5 separate regions of the Homo sapiens genome follow, and regions 1, 2, 3 and 5 are each linked to region 4. The links are contacts of gene promoters, found by promoter capture Hi-C in blood cells and fetal thymus (Javierre and others, 2016). All regions are on one chromosome and are shown on one strand. The core of a region is centred on a gene start or on the middle of the fragment in contact, and the rest is flanking DNA. Distances in the headings are between cores, read along the strand shown.

What was found. Contacts are between HindIII fragments. The CHiCAGO score rates a contact against its expected background, and 5 or more counts as called.
Region 1: a contact is called between a fragment that was not itself captured here and the fragment with the promoter of KDM3B in region 4, in 1 of 17 cell types (monocytes). The highest score is 5.3, in monocytes.
Region 2: a fragment that was not itself captured here is called in contact with the fragment with the promoter of KDM3B in region 4 in 2 of 17 cell types (monocytes and naive CD4 T cells); the score reaches 7.0 in monocytes.
Region 3: a contact is called between a fragment that was not itself captured here and the fragment with the promoter of KDM3B in region 4, in 1 of 17 cell types (neutrophils). The highest score is 5.5, in neutrophils.
Region 5: a contact is called between a fragment that was not itself captured here and the fragment with the promoter of KDM3B in region 4, in 4 of 17 cell types (naive CD8 T cells, fetal thymus, total CD8 T cells and 1 more). The highest score is 7.1, in naive CD8 T cells.

The regions. Positions count from the first base shown.
Region 1 is chr5:139,324,228-139,326,927 of GRCh38, forward strand. It overlaps MATR3 (matrin 3), which reads left to right. Exons shown (of 15, transcript NM_018834.6): 13 at 1,213-1,435; 14 at 1,936-2,057. Among named protein-coding and RNA genes, the nearest start is that of PAIP2, 16 kb to the right of the region's middle. The HindIII fragment of the contact is 5,429 bases long and covers 1-2,700 here.
Region 2 is chr5:139,345,186-139,347,885 of GRCh38, forward strand. All of the region lies in intron 1 of PAIP2 (poly(A) binding protein interacting protein 2), which reads left to right. Among named protein-coding and RNA genes, the nearest start is that of PAIP2, 4.7 kb to the left of the region's middle. The HindIII fragment of the contact is 8,536 bases long and covers 1-2,700 here.
Region 3 is chr5:137,748,337-137,751,036 of GRCh38, forward strand. HNRNPA0 (heterogeneous nuclear ribonucleoprotein A0) reads right to left here. Exons shown (of 1, transcript NM_006805.4): 1 at 1-2,700. Among named protein-coding and RNA genes, the nearest start is that of HNRNPA0, 4.7 kb to the right of the region's middle. The HindIII fragment of the contact is 3,508 bases long and covers 1-2,700 here.
Region 4 is chr5:138,351,285-138,353,984 of GRCh38, forward strand. It overlaps KDM3B (lysine demethylase 3B), which reads left to right and starts at 1,401. Exons shown (of 24, transcript NM_016604.4): 1 at 1,401-1,703. The coding sequence starts at 1,512. RefSeq lists silencers at 1,101-1,180, 1,201-1,440, 1,521-1,990 and an enhancer at 2,241-2,340. The HindIII fragment of the contact is 3,421 bases long and covers 1-2,700 here.
Region 5 is chr5:139,275,679-139,278,378 of GRCh38, forward strand. SNHG4 (small nucleolar RNA host gene 4) reads left to right here. Exons shown (of 7, transcript NR_182757.1): 3 at 443-472; 4 at 2,649-2,700. SNORA74D (small nucleolar RNA, H/ACA box 74D) reads left to right here and starts at 502; the gene lies at 502-645. All of the region lies in intron 3 of LOC124901081 (a long non-coding RNA gene), which reads right to left. It also overlaps a transcript of MATR3 not described here. The HindIII fragment of the contact is 902 bases long and covers 842-1,743 here.

The sequences.
Region 1 (2,700 bases), core at 194-2,693, 970 kb after region 4:
TACTGCTTATAAGACACAGAGCCAAAATTTAAACTTGGGCAGTCATTCTTCAGAGCATGATTGTTTTTTTTTTTTTTTTTTTTGGAGACGGAGTCTTGCTCTGTTGCCCAGGCTGGAGTGCGGTGGTGTGATCTCAGCTAACTGCAACCTCCACCTCCCAGGTTCAAGTTCTGCTGCCTCAGCCTCCCAAGTAGCTGGGATTACAGGTGTCCACCACCACACGAGGCTAATTCTTGTATTTTTAGTAGAAACGAGGTTTCGCCATGTTGGCCTGGCTGGTATTGAACTCCTGAGATCTCAGGGTGATCCGCCCACCTCAGCCTCCCAAAGTGCTGGAATTACAGGTGTGAGCCACCATGCCTGGCCCAGAGCTTGGTTTTTTAGCCATTACACTGTTTGAGTATTTGCTCTAAAGAGTAGGTATTTGCAGTATACTGTCTTACAAAGGATATTGCTCAACTTTTACCAAATCAAGTTTTTTACACATTGCCTAGCAGCATTGTAGTCTCAGAAAAGATAAAATATGAATATTCCTATCTCATTTAACTTCTGCTCTTTGTGTGAGGCAGACCTTCCATTTTTTAGTTTTAAAATAAGCTAAATTATTTTTCAAATTATCAGTAATTTTTTGGAAGAAAGGAAGAAGTTACTATTTTGAGCCAATGAATAAAGACAAAGACGCGGCCGGGCACGGTGGCTCACGCCTGTAATCCTAGCACTTTGGGAGGCCGAGGTGGGTGGATCACGAGGTCAGGAGATCGAGACCATCCTGGCTAACACAGTGAAACCCCGTCTCTACTAAAATTACAAAAAAAATTAGCCGGGCGTGGTGGCGTGCGCCTGTAGTCCCAGCTACTCGGGAGGCTGAGGCAGGAGAATGGCGTGAACCAGGGAGGCGGAGGTTGCAGTGAGCCGAGATCGCGCCACTGCACCCCAGCCTGGTCGACAGAGCAAGACTCCGTCTCAAAAAAAAAAAGGCAAAGACGCTATCCGTTTCCCTTCAAGTAAAGCAGACAGAAGGGATGCTGCAGGATAATTGTTGCAGAGTAAATTTGTCTTTCTTAACAGCGTCGTTTTCCAGGGAGTATGGAAGGTTTTGTCACTCTAGATGAGGTTGGTGATGAGGAAGATTCGGAACTTCAGAAACTTCGTAAATCGGGCATGGCATTTAAATCTGGTGACAAAAATGATGATGGTTTGGTTGAAATTAAGGTGGACAAGATCGAGGAACTTGATCAAGAAAACGAAGCAGCGTTGGAAAATGGAATTAAAAATGAGGAAAACACAGAACCAGGTGCTGAATCTTCTGAGAACGCTGATGATCCCAACAAAGATACAAGTGAAAACGCAGATGGTCAAAGTGATGAGAACAAGGACGACTATACAATCCCAGATGAGTATAGAATTGGACCATATCAGCCCAATGTTCCTGTTGGTGAGATTTAAGTCTTTGTTCTTCACCTTCCTCACTCTCCTCAAAACAAACTCTTAGGTTTTAAAATAAGATTTTAAAGTTGGTCTTACATAAGCTGTGATAGCATTTTAAATTTGCTTTGTTTCTATGGGGAACAATTTATAAATCTTAATTGATATATTTTCCTCTCATGCATGTCTCTGATTTTGTATTATTTTCTGTTGTTATTCCACAATGTGTTCCCTTTTTTCGTAAAATTTCTTGCAAGTTACACGCTTTTGTTTTGCTTTTCTGTGTTGTTTTTCTGTATTATATTTCTTTTTTTAAGAATACAGTTAGGTGAGACCTCAAACATCAATTAGGTAAAAGCAAAATATGGTTCGGTTTTTGTTTTTTATCTTAGGCTGTATTGGACTTCTCAAAAACATGTTGTTTCATTTAAATTATGTTGACAGGTGAAATTGTGAATACTAAATAAAATCTTCAGTTTAATTTGTAAGAATGTATGTTTGTATTTCTAGGTATAGACTATGTGATACCTAAAACAGGGTTTTACTGTAAGCTGTGTTCACTCTTTTATACAAATGAAGAAGTTGCAAAGAATACTCATTGCAGCAGCCTTCCTCATTATCAGAAATTAAAGGTAAGGTTGAATGTAAAACAGTTCTTTTGTGAAAACTTAACAAGTTATGGAAATAAGTGGGGTATATAAGTAAAATGTGTATAGTGTTCTCTCTAGACTCAGTGCAGTGCTTTCTCCTGAAGATAACTTTTTATTTACTTTTTTTTTTTTTTTTAAAGACAGTTTCTCTCTTGTTGCCCAGGTTGGATTGCAATGGTGCAATCTTGGCTCACTGCAACCTCTACCTCCTGGGTTCAAGCAATTTTCCTGCCTCAGCCTCCCAAGTAGCTGAGATTACAGGCATGCACCACCACACCCAGCTAATTTTTGTATTTTTAGTAGAAATGGGGTTTCACCATGTTGGCTAGCCTGGCTGGTCTTGAACTCCTGACCTCAGGTGATCCACCCACCTCAGCCTCCCAAAGTGCTGGGATTACAGGCATGAGCCACCGCGCCTGGCCTTTTCTTTCTTTATTGATGGGTTATCAAAACATCTGTTGAACCTCTTGTCATAGTTTACCCTTGCTACATAACAATTTAGTGTTTTCTAACCATATTATAAATTCTGTGGTAGAATTAAACTTATTCAAGTATTCTCAGATTGTTGTTGGGCTGTACTTTCTCTAATTTGAAAGATGCTGGGAGTCTGAATACTAAAAGTGGC
Region 2 (2,700 bases), core at 193-2,692, 990 kb after region 4:
ACACCACACCTGGCTACTTTTGTTTTTGTATTTTTAATAGAGACGGGGTTTCACCGTGTTAGCCAGGATGGTCTCGATCTCCTGACCTCGTGATCCAACGGCCTTGGCCTCCCAAAGTGCTGGGATTACAGGTGTGAGCCACCGCGCCCAGCCCAGAGCCCATGTTTTTTAATCGTTACCTTACTGTGCCAAATAGTAAAACAAAAAATTCGGTGCTTTTCACAGACTTCAGAGTGGAAAACAGACCAATTGAAAAATGTTGCGATCCTCTTTAACTGCCAAAGGAAGTATGCTTAAACGTATATATGCGTAAAATACGATTAAAAAATATGCAAATAAGGTAAGGATCACAGTGGTTCAAAACAGAGTCCAAGGGAATGAGAAAAGATGGTGCCTATGGAGGTAGATTAATGAAAGAAACAGAAGAGAACTATGCTTGAATTTTTTTTTTTTTTTTTTTGAAACGGAGTCTTGCTCTGTTGCCCAGGCCTGAGTGCAGTGGCATGATCTCATTTCACTGCAAGCTCCACCTCCCGGGTTCATGCCATTCTCTTGCCTCAGCCTCCTGAGTAGCTGGGACTACAGACGCTTGCCACCATGCCTGGCTAATTTTTTGTATTTTTAGGAGAGATGGGGTTTCACCGTGTTAGCCAGGATGGTCTCAATCTCCTGACCTTGTGATCCGCCCACCTCGGCCTCCCAAAGTGCTGGGATTACAGGCGTGAGCCACCGCACCAGGCCTATATTTGAATTTTAATGAGAATTCTTAAAAGATGAAACTAGTGGAGAAAGATTGTAAAACCTAAAAGATTTCTGTATTTTAAAATTCCATAGACAATATAAAAGGACACTGCTGGAAACCAATATGTCTAAGAGGCATTTCAGGAGGGGAAAAACAGCTGAAGACACAATAAAGCCCTAAGTTGATAAATTGAAAGGGTTTGCTGACTTCCAGGCAGTAGTACTGGGAAAAAATTGCTCTTACCTATCCAAAATCTGGTGAAATATATGAATTTGTTAAAACATCTTAAGCTGTCGTCTAGAACAGGATTTTTAAATTTTTATTTATTTTTTTGAGACGGAGATTTGCTCTGTCACCAGGCCGGAGTGCAGTGGCGCAATCTTGGCTCACTGCAACCTCCGCCTCCCAGGTTCCAGTGATTCTCCTGCCTCAGCCTCCCCAGTAGCTGGGACTACAAGCATGTGCCACCACGCCCAGCTAATGTTTGTATTTTTAGAGACGGGGTTTCACCATGTTGGCCAGGATGGTCTCAATCTCTTGACCTCATGATCCACCCCCTTGGCCTCCCAAAGTGTTGGGATTACAGGCGTGAGCCACCGCACCTGGCCTATTTTTATTTTTTGAGATGCAGTCTCCCTCTGATGCTCAGGTTGGAATGCAGTGGCACCATCTCAGCTCACTGCAACCTCTGCCTCCCAGGTTCAAGCAATTCTCCTGCCTCAGCCTCCCGAGTAGCTGGGACTACAAGCGTGCACCTCCATGTCCAGCTAATTTTTGCATTTTTAGAGACGGGGTTTCGCCCAAGTTGGCCAGGATGGCCTCAATCTCTTGACCTCGTGATCCACCCCCTTTGGCCTCCCAAAGTGCTGGGCGTGAGCTGCTGCGCCCAGCTTATTTTTATTTTTTGAGATGCAGTCTCAGTCTGTTGCTCAGGCTGGAATGCACCATCTCAGCTCACTGCAACCTCTGCCTCCCAGGTTCAAGCAGTGCTCCTGCCTCAGGCTCCCGAGTAGCTGGGACTACAGCTGTGCGCCACCATGCCTGGCTTAGTTTTTGTATTACTAGAGATGGGGTTTCACCATGTTGGCCAGGGCCGGTCTCAAACTCCTCACCTCAAGTGATCCACCTCCCTTGGCCTCCTAAAGTGCTAGGATTATAGGTGTGAGCCACTGCACCCAGCCTAGAACAGGATTTTTAAAAGGAAAGAAAATTGATTTTCTACAACATTGAAAGTTGGAATTATTGACAATAGATTATCAACAGGAAGCACAGACATCTCAGAATTCTGTTACAACTAATTTTTTTTTTAGCACATTTACATGGAAATACTCATGTTACAACTTTTTTTTTTTTTTTTTTTTTTTAAGACACAGTTCCGCTCTGTCGCCCAGGCTGGAGTGCAGTGGCGCGATCTTGGCTCACTGCTACCTCCACCTCCCGAGTTCAAGCGATTCTCCTGCCTCAGCCTCCTGAGTAGCTGACACTACAGGCGCCCACCACCATGCCCGGCTAATTTTTGTATTTTTGGTAGAGGCAAGGTTTCACCATATTGGCCGGGCTTTTCTAGAACTCCTGACCTCAAATGATCCACCCACCTTGGCCTCCCAAAGTGGTGGGATTACAGGCCTGAGCCACCACGCCAGGCCATACAACATTTTTATTCAAACATGAAGGCAAAAGATGTTTTGTAGCATTAGGAGATACACCTAATGCTAAATGACGAGTTAATGGGTGCAGCACACCAGCATGGCACATGTATACATATGTAACTAACCTGCACATTGTGCACATGTACCCTAAAACTTAAAGTATAATAATAATTTTTAAAAAACTGTGGTACATCCATAAAAAAAAAAAAGATGTTTTGGACACTGGCTTAGAATGATAAATCCTCAGGTAGCCTTTTGAACTATTTTACAAAGATAGGAAGTTAGGGGAAGATGATGAATATAAGAAAC
Region 3 (2,700 bases), core at 90-2,589, 600 kb before region 4:
GCTAGCAGAATTCATCTCTCTCCTACTAGAGTTGAAGCAGCAGTGATTTAGAGAACTACCACATGGAAGCTCACCCAGCAAGTAAAGAGCAAAGCCTAAAGACCATGCATATCTCGGGTACTAAGATATAAAAGTATGCCTTTTGCTAGTCTGTCCCACCTCTTCATTAGGGGCCATATAGTAAAATTACTGTGTACCAGAGACTACAGTAAGCCCTTCTTTATATGCATTCTTTCACTGAATCTGCCCAACAATCCTATGTAGCAGGTATTACCATAGCCTATTTTTTTACAAATAAGGCAAGTGAGGCTCGGGCCAGTTTGTCCAAGGTCGCAGTGCTAGAAAGTGACTGTGTCAGGAACAGAATTTGGTCTATTGGATGCCCAAATTTACGTCCTTAAGGGCTATGAAATATTAAATCAGATACCCACTATGAAGCAAATTACATTTGCAACGTAAGCATCAAAGACAAAATACACCTTTGATTTCTAAAAAGTAATCAATTAAGGAGAAAAGAGTCTTAATTTTCATCAGAGAATGTACATTCAATGACAATGGAGCTAACTCCAATTTTGATGGTGTGAACAATATGAGATTGTGACACAATGCTGTAAAGGAAAAGATGCATCATCTCAAAATAAATTGAATTCCCATTTCAAAATAAATTGAATTCCAACCAGAACGCAAGGTATATGAAGACAGCAACCATGTTTGTCTCACTGCTGTGTACCTCCACATTATAGAACTGTCTTACACAAAGGTGCCTAACACCCAATGAAATTGACGGTAAACACTGGGAAATAAGCACACTGTTTAAATGGCAAAAGTTTACACTTGAGAACTTTATAGCAGGAAATGATAGCTATTTCAGATAGATTTTTTAAGTAAACCATACAAAGTGGTAAAAGAATTAAAGAGACAAAGAAAGCCTGCCTGAATAGAGAAGGAAACAGTTAAGAATAACTACCAAAGGTGTCTTCCTGAATCCTTTCCCTCTCTGAAGGTTCAAATCATCTGGCTTCAAATCAAAGTAAAAAAAATAGGTGGAAAATAGAGAATTGCCCTTCTAGTCTTCCTACTTTGGAATTCCTTTTTAAATAGCAGCTTTCAAATATCTTTTTATAATAAATGTTTTACCTTGTAACATTTAAATTCTCATTCAAGGCAAATATGAAGTTCACTCAAAAGCAGGACAGCTAAGGAGTTATTTGACTAGGCAGTCTTTGTTGCTGTTTCAAAAGGCCAAAATAAGGCTGAGGAGGAAAATTTCCCCAATGATCACTCTTAAAGTGATTCAATAAATTGGTTACGATGGAGAAAGACACTTAGCCTAAGTGCAAGTGCTGTCTTTTTGGGTAAAATCCGTGTAGTCTAGATGCAGTTCTGCTCCAAATCCAACATCCAAATGCCTATCTGCAATCAGCAGACGCGGGCAGACAAAATTTAACCTAAAATGCAAACTCTCAAAACTTAAGCACACTTAAAAGGTAAACTAAGTTTACAAATCCAATAACTGATACCATCACTTCTGGTTTTGAAGGAAATCATAAATGCAAATTTCTCAAGTATCCTCAATCTTTTAGGTTTACTTAAAAATTATGAAAATTAGATTTGAATATGAAACGTTCCAAATCACTAAGTTAAAAATGGATGAATGGGTACAATCAGTATAGTCATTCTGATTTGATAGTTATCACTGTGAACCTTAACCACTTGCAGGCTTTTTTTTGGATACAGTAAATCAGTACCAATGAGAGCTTTTTAAATGACCTGAAAAACACTACAGATATTCCAATCAAAAAATCTAAAATGCTCCAAAATCCGAAATTTTTTGAGTGCAGACATGACATTCAAAGGAAATGCTCATTGAAGCAGTTTGGATTTTACATTTTTGTATGAGAGCTGCTCAGCTGGTAAACATAATGGAAATATTCAAAAATTGAAAAAAATCTAAAACTCAAAACACTTCTGGGCCCAAGAATTTCAGATAAGGAATACTCAACCTGTATCATCTCTAACAGCCTTTCAAACCACTTTCAACTAATGACTACTGAATTTATACTTTTAAAAGAATGTAAATGCCAAAGATCTTCACATTAAGATGAAAAATAGGAGGTTCACTTTTATTTTGCTAATCCGTCAAAATACATTCAAGCATGGCACAAAAATTATATTCAACACTAGGTTCTGTACCACCTGCTCCCATGAACTCTTAAATCTGAATAATGTTCAGATAATTTTCATAGGTGGAAGTGGTCAAAACATACAACCAATTGTCCCTCCTCCCCAAGTCCCACATGCCAAAATGTTTGCATATAAACTGACAAGAGGAACCCAGAAGTGACTAAATACCACTATGCTTTTTTCTTCACTACAAATAGCAATTTTAAGGGTAGACACATGACAATGAAGTGTTAATATACCATGAACAGAACAGGTTGCCTTCCTAATACACAGAAAATCCTTTTACATAATTCATTTGCAAACTTTAGAAGCCACTATATTCCCATGTTGGGAATAATATGACAACCTTATTAAACTGAAAACCCTGAGAAAGGTGTACTATTCCAATTGACCCAGATCTTCCCACCAAAACTGAGTAAGTCAAGCAGAGTAGTATTTAACAATTACAACGAAAAATTTCAGAGAATCATTTTCTGTATCCTAGAGGCCACTCTACAGCCACCAAAAAGCTGGACC
Region 4 (2,700 bases), core at 151-2,650:
CCAGAAAAACATTCTGAGTCAGGCCTCAGGTTGGCTGTGGGAGATGGAAGTTAAAAAGAAGTGGAGGGAGGAATGTTTCCTTGGTGCTCCACAGGGTTGGTTCTAGAATGATTTTCCTATATGTTTTATACTTTAGTAAAAGTATAAAGTCAATAGTTGGTTACCCCTCTCCCCAAGCCTTTGTTACAAGAAAAGTAGGTCAAGGGTGTAGACAAGGTTATGGACAGGAGATAGCTGGGGTAGGCACAGAAGCCTTGGAGAAAGAACCAGCTACCACTATTTCCTGTCTGTAGGGAAAATCAAAAAGTCACTTTTAGAACAACAGTCATGGGTTATTACTATACCCTTTATCTTTTGTATCCATTTTGTGTATACTCAGTCTCTGCATCCATGAGACCATGGAATGTGCTAGTCCCTGATATTGCCAGCTTTAAATGATTGAGGCAATTTCCTGTTGCTTATTGTGGGTAACAATCTAGCCAAAAATCTCAGCATCTCACTTTCTCTGCAGGCTCCTTTTCTAATCAGGAGCTATCAGTCTCCCACACCTGTATTAAATGCATTCAGATAAGAGTTACAGAATTTTCTTTGCCCCCAGCCCCACTAATTCCATGGTAAGATGGAGTGCTACTAAGAGAACCCCTTTACTGTTGGTCTATTTCCAGTTCCCCTAAGAGTTGAATGGAGAAACACGTAGACTTAATAACATTGGCAGACTAGGAAGGGGAAGAAGTTAGGTCGGTTTTAGGAAAAACACCAAGATGTTGGGGGGCACGTTGGCCTTCAGTCAGTGGAAAGAGTGGCATTATACATCCAATGGAAGTAATACATTGGCCAATTGGAAAGGAACCTAAGAAGTGCTGGCAGTATAGAATGGGATGGTGCTGTTATGGGCCATTGAGAAGGAAGACATTGTGTCTCATGGACCAATGGGGAGAACATTTCCTACAAGACAGCAGGTAGGAGCTCATATTTTCAGGATAGGAAATCAATGGGGGTATTGGAGACACTAAATAGCTCAAAACATCCACTCTCTAGGTACCTTGCCCCTCACCCCCTTACCCCGTAAATGTCTTTGGTATCCGAGGAGAGCAAGCTAAAGCCCTCTCATATATACGACTCCCTGAAGGAAGATTGAGACCAGGGATGATGCCATGGGGAAGCTGAAGGACCCGCCCACTTCCCTACCCCGGCCGGACCTGCAATTCCCCTCCAGACCGCAGGGGGCACTGCAGGCCCCGGGGAGATTGGGGCGGAGCGCTGCGAGGGGCCAGGAGCTGTCGCCCCGCTCCAGAGCGCGGGGGGCGCTGTGCGGGGCCCAGGCTGCGGCTCCGCTCCCGGCCACGGGGGGCGCTGCGCTGCGCCGGTGGTTGGTGGTGGCTGTTGGGGGGGGTGGGGGGGAACGGCGGCCGCGGGTGGTGCGGAGGGAGGCCTTGCGGGCGGATCGGGCGCTTGGCGGCGGAGGTGGTGGGAGGCGGCGGGCGGGAGCGCGGGTCAGGCCGGCCCCGGCGATGGCGGACGCGGCGGCCTCCCCGGTGGGCAAGCGGCTGCTGCTGCTGTTCGCGGACACTGCGGCCTCAGCCTCGGCCTCGGCTCCCGCGGCGGCAGCGGCGAGCGGAGATCCGGGGCCTGCGCTGCGCACTCGAGCCTGGCGGGCCGGCACGGTGCGGGCCATGAGCGGGGCGGTGCCCCAGGACCTAGCGGTGAGTGGCGGCCGAGTCGGGCACTCGAGGCCGGGGCTGCGGGGCCTGCGGGCGGCCTCCCCGGGGGCCTTTGTGAGGGGGCGGTGGGATGGGGGTGACCCATTTCCGTGCCCCCGGGTCTCCTTAGCGCCCCCCGCCGGCACCTCCGCACCCCGAGCGCTTGCCGGCATGGCTTCCGCGTCGGGGTGTGCGCCCCGGTTTCCCCCGGGGGGCGGCCAGGGCGTCCGGAGCTGCTGCTTGCAGCCAGCAGGCCCCGCCTCCTGGGCGACCCTTTTCTCGGCGTTCCCCCCAACACGCCTTCGGAGCAGGCTCTCGAATCTTGAGCTCCCGGGAGCCTCAGAGTTCGGCCAGTGTTGCCGCTGCCCTCTCGAAGACGCGGACCTGTGGTCCCCAGCCTCTCCCAGGAGACCTGCGCCCTGTTCCTTTTCTCCCAGAGCCCCAAGTGGGGCGGGAATGTGGGCAGTTATGGGAGGCACGGAGGCTGCAGTTGGAGCTGGTCGGGGCTTTTTTATCTGGCAGTTACTTCCTCATCTGAGCTGGGCTCGGCCTGGCGGTCTCCAGAAAGGCCAGCTCTCGGCACTGTCTCGAGCTCTCCTCTCCTTTCCTTAACGCTTCTGGGTGACAGGAGCTGCAGTTGTGGCTGTTTTTGTTAAGTTTGAGATCTTTCTTAGTGGCCGAACGGGGCTGCTGGGTAGTGCTTTTTGCTCCCAGCTCAGCTACTCCCCCAACCTTGGGAGAGGTTTTGTTTTGAAACTTTGTGTTTGGGCTTGGCCCTTTTTGAATGCCTTGGTGTGTTTTGTGATTAAAGTTGTTCAGTCATACAACTTAACTAGCATTCGGGATCATGATGTGTTATTCTCGTTAATGTGGCGGTAAAATATAGTGTTTGAGTTTTGGCAAGCCACTTTATTTCCTCATTTTGATAGGGGCCCTAGCTTCTCTGGTGAGATAAGGCTATGAAAAATGGTGTGTGTGCGTGTTGGGGCAGGGGGTGGTC
Region 5 (2,700 bases), core at 43-2,542, 920 kb after region 4:
GCCTGTAGTCCCAGCTACTCAGGAGGCTGAGGTAGGAGAATCACTTGAGCCCAGGAAGTGGAGGCTGCAGTGAGCCATGATTGTGCCACTGCACTCCAGCCTGGGTGGCAGAGAAAGACCCTGTAATATAATACCTCCATTCTACAAATGAGACTGAGGTATAGAGAGGTTTCTCGCCCAGTATCATTTGGCTAGACACTGGTTAGGGGATAGAGCCAGGCTCCCTGATATTTGTTTAATCGACTCTTTTGCTACTATTGAACTGCTGTGGTGTATAAGTAACAAGAGATGAAAACAAAGCTAAACAAGGATAAGCTATTGGTTTTATTGTCTGCTATTGTTTCTGTGGCTTAGGCCTAAGTTACCGTGTTTTGAGGGGAGGGACTCTGAGCTGCACACGTGTTCACTGTTGGCTGACTAACCTGGAGTTGTTTCATTGCAGAGAGGCTGGCTGTGGCAGATGCAACTGCAGGTGAGTGCAACCCCTTCAGCTCTCTTGGCTCCAGCTGTAGGCAGCTGCCTAGGTTGTCTTGTACCTAGGCAAGTGTTACACTGCTGGGAGAACAGCAGCCAATAGCTGGTTGGCATTCTGGCCCTGGTTCATGCCAACTCTTGTGTTGACTACCCCAGGATGCCAGCATAGTTGCTTATCCATTAAGGCAGGCGTGTTTTTTGGCTTCCCTGGGCCACATTGGAAGGATAAGAATTGTCTTGGGCCATACATAAAATATAGTAACACTAACGATAACTGATAGCTAAATTTAAAAAAAAATTGCCAAAAATAACTCCTCATAATGTGTTAAGAAAGTTTACCAATTTGTGTTGGGCTGCGGGTTGGAAAAGCTTGCATTAAGGTTTAATCTGTGAGAGCATGACTTTTTGCAGAGAATAAGTCCAGACCTTCCTGAATAGTTCTGGTCCAACAGGTTTGGGTAGCATGAAGTTACTTGAATCATACCTTGGAAACAGAACAAAGCTAATGGGAAGAGGGGGTTGGTAAAAATAGACGGAAAAGTCACACCTTTATTTTTAGTGCCTACCAAGGGCTCAAAGGGGGCCAGATACAATGGGATTTTTGCTAATTTCACTGAAATTAAAGTCCATGGCTCCTACTACCCACCATAAAAGCTAGTCATGACACCCTTTGTAGAGGGATGGATTCCCTATTAGGGAAACATTGATGGTAATTCACTTTAAAATTATGGGCATTCTCTAGCTGTTTAATAAAATATTAAAATATTGATTGAGGGGGCTCTGGGAACTGAACAACTACAACCACACTAATTTCTCCTTTGGGCTGACAGTATATTTGCTTTAGTTGCTTACTGATTTTCAGAAATGAACAGTTGTTGCCCCATTAAAGTGGTAGATATTGAGTTCCCTTTGTAGTAATTTTGTTTTGGAATGCTTTTTCCCAAGTAGTTGGGATGATAGGTGTGTGCCACCACAACCAGATAATTTTTTTTTTTTTAATTTGTAGAGACAAAGTCTCATTATGTTGCCCAGGCTTTAGTAGAGACAAGGTTTCACGACGTTGTCCAGGCTGGTCTCGAACTCCTGGGCTCAAGTGATCTCCTGCCTCTCAAAGTGCTGGGGTTACAGGCATGAGCCACTGCACCGTGCCTGGCCTGGAATGCTAATCTTTTGAGAAGAGATGACCCTCGGTTGCTGTGAAAAGTGACATACTAGTTTCCACAGGAGGAAATGGGGAGGATGTTGGGGGGCAGGGGAGTTGTTTATCAAAGCTTGTTTTGTTAGATCAGTTGGCATTCCCTTAATAGGATTCTCTCAACTAAATGTGAGTGCTTTGTGTGAATGCCTCAACTGTGAATAGCCTTTTACATATGGGGTCTTAAGGCTAGTGATATCTGTAGGGCTTGGGGGATGGTTAGCTTTATAGTACTATAGGCAGGGAAAAGGCAAATAATGGTAAATAAAATAATTCCTGAGGCTATAGAAATTGGGGTAAATGGCAAGCAGCATTCTATTTCCATCTCTCCAGATAAGGGTCCTTAGGAGCTGCTATTTTAGACCAGGGTGCCAAACATTCAAATTCATGGGAAATATATCATGTCTGCTCGTCTTTTTTTTTTTTTTTTTTTAATTGACAGTAATTGTATATGTTATATGGGGTACAACATGAGGTTTTCATACATGTTTACATTGTGGAATGAGTAAATCATGCTAGTTAACACATCTAGCACCTCACATACTTATATTTTGTTGTGGTGAAAACATTTAGTATCTTTTAGCAATTTTGAAATATACAGGCCAGGCACGGTGGCTCGCACCTGTATTCCCAGCACTTTGGGAGGCTGAGGTGGGAGGATCATTTGAACCCAGGAGTTTGAGACAAGCCTGGGCAACAGAAAGAGATCTCATCTCTATAAAAAACAAAAAAGAAATTAGGTGGGTGTGTTGGCATGCACCTGTAGTCCCAGCTGCTTGGGAGGCTAAGCTGGGAGGATCACTTGACCCAGGAGATTGAGACTACAGTGAACCATGGTCATGCCACTGCACTCAGTCTAGACAGAGTGAGACCCTATCTCAAAAAATATATATATATATATACACACACACACACAATGCATTGCTATTTATTATATTCTGTGTACTAGATCACTAAGTTTGCTTGTCTTCCTTTTTAGGATGACTTGAAAGTAGGGCATCCTTCACCCATCTGAAGGGAGGAAATAGTGG